Linked DNA regions of Homo sapiens: region 1 is linked to region 2. The links are contacts of gene promoters, found by promoter capture Hi-C in human tissues and cell types (Jung and others, 2019). All regions are on one chromosome and are shown on one strand. Each heading gives the region's core, a stretch centred on a gene start or on the middle of the fragment in contact. The rest is flanking DNA. Distances are from core to core; before and after follow the strand shown. Region 1 overlaps SPECC1 (sperm antigen with calponin homology and coiled-coil domains 1). Region 2 holds the start of ULK2 (unc-51 like autophagy activating kinase 2).

What was found. Contacts are between HindIII fragments. The study calls those that stand out against the background at their distance.
Region 1: a fragment that was not itself captured here is called in contact with the fragment with the promoter of ULK2 in region 2 in 1 of the 25 tissues and cell types used here (dorsolateral prefrontal cortex).

Annotation. Positions count from the first base shown.
Region 1 is chr17:20,249,742-20,252,659 of GRCh38, forward strand. All of the region lies in intron 9 of SPECC1 (sperm antigen with calponin homology and coiled-coil domains 1), which reads left to right. Among named protein-coding and RNA genes, the nearest start is that of FAM106B, 170 kb to the right of the region's middle. The HindIII fragment of the contact is 6,970 bases long and covers 1-2,918 here.
Region 2 is chr17:19,866,461-19,869,437 of GRCh38, forward strand. It overlaps ULK2 (unc-51 like autophagy activating kinase 2), which reads right to left and starts at 1,476. Exons shown (of 27, transcript NM_014683.4): 1 at 868-1,476. The coding sequence starts at 957. RefSeq lists an enhancer at 593-1,101 and silencers at 680-859, 940-1,529. The HindIII fragment of the contact is 32,590 bases long and covers 1-2,977 here.

The DNA of each region.
Region 1 (2,918 bases), core at 392-2,891, 380 kb after region 2:
GTCAGTATAAATATCTGAACTGAAGCACAGAGAAAAAGGATAGGAAATAGAGAAAAGGACATAAGAAACATATGGGATGGAATAAAAAAATCTCATGTGTAATTGGAGTCCCCAAAAGGGGAGAAAAAGAGCAGAAGTGATATTGGAAGGGATAATGATCAAGAATTTCCAAAACTGATAAAAGATGTCAAGCCCAGATTCAAGAAACAATAAGAACCCCAAGTGAGATAAGTACAAAGAAAACCACCCAGACACATGAGGTTAAAACTGCTGGAAATGAAAGAGAAAGCATCCTAAAAGCACCCAAAAGAAAAAAGATACCTCAATGTCCAAGGAGGAAGAGCAAAACTGACATCTTTCTTCTCAAGAAGAATGATGGAAGCCCTGAAGACAATGCAGTGGCATCTGCAAAATGCTGAAAGAAAACACCTGCTTTCCTTTACCTCATGAAAATATGCTTCAAAGTGCTGTACCTGGTGAAAATACCCTTCAAAGGTGAACACAAAAGAAAGATGCTTTGAGTCCAACAAAACCAGATGTTTTTTCCTAGGATACTTGCAGTGAAAAGACTATTTAAAGGAGTTCTGCATGGAGTTTGTTCTTTTAAAAGACTATTAAAATTCAAAACATCTGACAAGAAAAGCTAATGCAAAATTACCTGTATCAGGAATTTGTAAATGGGTACATCACTAAAGATTTCATAATTATTAAAGCAATAGTAAGAGAATATTATATATTACTACTTTGTGCTATAAATTAGAAAATATTGATGAAATGGTCAAAATCTTAGAAAAATGTAACGTGCTAAACTTACATAGGAGAGAGTAGTAGAAAATCTCAATCACCTATAATTTATATCTTTTCCTTAAAAGAAATGCCAGGGCCTTATGGCTTCACCATGAAACCTCCCAAACATTTAAGGAAGAAATAATGTCAATCTTACGTAAATTCAGAGACTAGGAAAGAGGTCAGCATAGCTTTGATCCCTAATAGTTGCAAGAACATTAATAGACAAGAAAATTAAAAGGTCTTTCTCACGAACCTCTTTGCAAAAATCCTGAACAAAATCTTGGAAAACCTTATTCAGAGACACATGAAAAAGATCATGTCATGTTGGGTTTATTCCAGGAATGGAAGGTGGTTAATATTGAAGCCAACCAGAGTAATTCACCACATTAACAAAGGTATAAAAAGAATATGGTTGGCCAGGTACAATGGCTTATGCCTGTAATCCCAGCACTTTGGGAGGCCAAGGTAGGTGGATCACTGGAGGCCAGGAGTTCAAGACCACTCTGGTCACCATGGCGAAACCCCATCTCTACTAAAAATACAAAAATTAGCTGGGCGTGGTGGTGCACGCCTGTAACCCCCAGCTACTTGGGAGGCTGAGGCACAAGAATGGCTTAAATCCAGGAGGCGGAGGTTGCAGTCACCTGAGATCATTGCCATTCCACTCCTGGGCGACAGAGTAAGACTCTATCTCAAAAAAAAAAAAAAAAAGCATATGGTCATCTTAGTAGGTGGTGGCAGGAAAATGTAGTCGATAAAGATTAATATCTTTCTTGATGGAAATTCTTAGAAAAGTAGGAATAGAAGGGAAAGTCTTTAATCTGATAAAGGGTCTGTATTATATATCTACAGCAAACATCATACTTAATGGTGAAATATCGGATGCTTTCCCACAGGATTGTGAATGGGATAGGAATGCCCCATATTGTCACTTTTGTTCAGCCAACTTCAAAAGCAAGATTTAAAACTACTTTTGAAAACTGTATACCACGACCATTATATTTTTGTGGGATGTGGATACATGGAATTGTGTTTAATATGCTATGAAGTAGAGCCTCTAAGAGAAAATAATGTTCTGGAAAGCCTCAGAATGGCCCTGCACAGGCAAATGTACCAGGTTGTTCATTGCAGCATTGTTCCTAATATCAATATCAACATGAATATCAATAGAGAATCAGTAAAATAAATTATGGTAATGAAAATAGCTAAGATCTACTGAATGCTTACTATCTGCTGGGCTGTGTTTTGATTGTTCTAACTGGATTTAACTCATTTAATCCTCCCATAACCCTTTGAGGTAAGTACGTTTAGTATCGTTGCCATTTTATAAATAAAGAAAATAAGGCACAGAAAATTAAGTAACCCAGAGTCTCACAGGTGGGTGGTGCCATCTGTCCCCAGAGCCACTTACTTGGCCTCTTGTGGCACTTCTCAGAGGAAGCTGCCAAGATGGTGGGTGATGGTGGGTATAGAATGACTTCTAAGATACAGTAAGTGAAAGAAGCAAAATGGTGTACAAAACAATATAATGCTATGATAACAGTTGTGTTTTTAGAAAAACAGAGGGTGTTTTTCAAGGTTTTTCCTTGAATAATATCATGCTTACTTGCATTCTGAAATGCTTTTTTAAATGGCAGTAAAAAAAATACACCATGAAATCTACTCTATTAACAAATTTTTAAGTATTGTTAACTAGAAGCACAATATTGTATGGCAGGTCTCTAGAAAAATTTTTTTTTAAATTTTTAATTTTATTTCAGATTCAGGGTGTACATGTACAGATTTGTTACATGGATATATTGTGGGATGCTGAGGTTTGGGGTATGATTGATCCCATCACCCAAGTAGTGAGCATAGTACCCAACAGGTTTTCAGTGCTTGCCTCCCCCTCCTCTAGCACTCCCCAGTGTCTCTTGTTGCCATCTTTCTGTCCTCTAGAACTTTGTTATCTTGCCTGACTGAAACTCTGTATCCACGGAACAATTCCCCACTTCCCCTCCCTGAGGCCTCTGGGAGCCACCACTCCACTGTCTGCTTCTGTGATTTTGACTACTTTAGATTCCTCACGTACATAGAGTTATGCCGCTCTTGTCCTTCAGTGACTGGTGTATTTGACTTAGCATAATGTC
Region 2 (2,977 bases), core at 226-2,725:
TCTCGCCACGGCACTCCAGCCTCGGCGACAAAGCGAGACTCTGTCTCAAAAATAAATAAATAAATAAATAAGAAAAGTAGCATTACTTCATCCGATAAGCAACAAAGTCAGCCCACTTTTAACACGCCCCTTGGGCAACAATCAGAACTGCCACACCCTTTAAGATTATTTCCACTCCCGATATGCCTTTCCAAATTCTTTAGATTCTAAAACCTCGTGTAACTGTACTTGCGAAACAGCAAAGGCTTAAAACAATTTTTTTAAGGCTTAAAGGTGATTTCATGTTCAAGGTGATTGAAAATGAATTGTCCAACCACCTTTCTCACCCGGAGCTCGTCTATCTGACTCCGGGGGGGAAAACGGTACGGGGGCTCTTCGGGGTGCAGGGGACCAGTGCTGGGAAAGGTGACACCTCCCAGGCTGCGAAAGCCTGAGGCTAATGGGACATCCGCCCATTTTCCGCTGGGTCTGTAATTATCAACCTCAAAAGTGACCAGCCCTGGGCACGGGGAAAAAAACCAAAGGTCCATTCACGCCCAACCCTCGAGTCTGCACGGTGCAGTACCGTCTATTTTGGGTCCAGGGTAACCTGGGTGCAAACGCTCCTGCGGGCGGACCGCGGGGTGGGCCCCGGGCACACAGGAGGATCAGCAGCAGCCGGTCGGTAGGCGGAGCGCTGCCAGAGGCTTGGGCCTCACAACAACCCTCACAGGACCAAAACAAACGGCGAGACGGGCTGCGCGCACAATAGCATACCCGGGCGGCTAGCCGAGTCGGGGGTCTCGGCTCGCGGCTGCGCCAAGTTTCAGAACCACCTAGCCCCGTGCCTGCCGCCCGGGGCCCGGCCTCGCCCCGGCCGGCGCTCACCTGGCGGTGCCGCCCCCGGAAGACCACGGCGAAGGCCCCGTGTCCCACGAGATCCCTCTTGCTGTACTCGAAGTCACCCACCACCTCCATGGCCGCGCCCCCGGGGCACACAGCGGACGGGCGGGCGGCGCAGTGCGGCGCAGGTATCAGCACCGCGGCTCCGCGGGCCCGGAGCGCGCCAGCGTGCGGCGGGTCTGGGGCAGCCGCAGCCCCGGGCCCGGGCGGACTCTCATGCCGAGAGACCGGAGCGGAAACTGGGGAAGCTGCCGCGCGGAGCCAGGGTCAGCGAGGCCCGGCCCGGCCCCTGCCGCTCATGGCCCGGCCTGCCGCCGGCCGCTGGCTGTCTGGCGAAGCGGCCTCGGCGCTGCCGGGCCAGGGGTGCCGTCACCGTCACTGTGCGCGCCCAGAGCCGCACACGCGCTCTGAGGCAGTGAGGGGCCCGGTACTCTCCATCCCCAGCTCGTCGGGCCTCCTCGGCCCTCCCCGCTCGGGGCGCTGCTGCGACGGCGACGGCCGCCGCCCTAGAACCCGCACCGCCGCGGCCCCGCGCTTCCCCGCCTCGCGGCGGCGCCCAACGCCCTCGCGCGCGCTACCCGCTCCCGCGCGACTGGCTGCCCTCCGCGACGTCCGCGCGCCTTGAAGGCCGCAGCGCCAGCCGGCTCCCTCCGCCGGGGAAAGGAGTGCGGCCAGGGCTTGGCGCCCGCAGCTGGGCAGATCCTCGGCCGCTCCTGAGGCGGGGACGAAGGGCGCGACCCGCTGCGGCCACAGCGGGTTACGGGCTGCGGGCTCCGTTCTGGGCCTGGGGAGCAGATTCGAGCCGACCACGCCCCGGGCTCCAGGCCGCTGGGAGGCGGACTTCAGAGAAGCGGGTCTTGAACCCCAGCTGCAGGCAGGACGGGATTATCTGCGCAGGGTAGACCCCCAGATTCCTGCCAGAGCAAAGGAGCAACTGCTACTCCAGGCTTTGCCCGCGCTCTGGAAAACCAGAGTTCACGCTGCCAAACTGCCAGCCTTCGGACGCCTCTCGGGGTTTACTCGCTTAGGATCCCTAGAGGGACGGTGACAGGCGGGATTCTGCACCTTTTGGGGGTCCCTTGACTGCGAGAAGCTGGTGACAGCTCAGGGCCCTCTTCGCAGAGAATCGTTTCTGCACACCGACTCAGAATCGCACACGTTTTCAAGGTTCTCCTGGGAGCTCCTAGTGTCAGGCTAGTTTGACCTCGGGCTTACTTCACATGGCCGAAGGGAGCTTTCTTTTCTACCTGATTGTTAAAGCTGTCCAAGTGACAAGGAACAGATTGTCAGGTTTCCCGCAAAGAAGTGTCTTATGAAACCATTTAATAAACAATATGCTTGAAACTACCATGGAATACGCAGGCTCCACACTTGAGTGTGTGTTCGGTTGTATAGGGTATGTGCTTTTGGGGTCTGTCACCACCTCGACTGCCACTGCCTGTCCCTGCAAGCTGATCTCTGAACCATGACAGAGTCAGCTCCAGGATTCTGAGAGAACGCTCCTTCCTCACACGCTCAAAACGTAGGGCCTTGAGTTTCTGCTTCTGCTACTGTGCACGCTTACGTTATCCTGTCCTTACTTACATCTGGCCCAGGTGGTTGTGTTAGACACTGAAAATCTGGAGCCTTCAAAAGTTGACAGCAACTTAAGCAAGTTTGCACATACACCCAAAAATGGATGGAGATGATTCCTTACCTCACTGAAAGATTCTCTACAGTCTATTTTTTTGTTTACTTTTTTTTTTTTTTTTTTTTTTGAGACAGAATCTTACTCTGTCACCCAGGCTGGAGTGCGGTAGCACAATCTTGGTTCACTGCAACCTCTGCCTCCCAAGTGCAAGTGATTCTGCTGCCTGAGCCTCCCAAGCAGCTAGAATTACAGGCACGCACCACCACGCCCAGCTAATTTTTGTATCTTAGTAGAGATGGGGTTTCACCATGTTGGCCAGGCTGGTCTCAAACTCCCAACTTCAAGGGATCAGCCTGTCTCGGCCTCTCAAAGTGCTGGGATTACAGGCGTGAGCCACCACGCCCGGCCTGTTTTTTGTTTTGAGACAGAGTCTTGCTCTGTTGCCCAGGCTGGAGTGCAATGGCA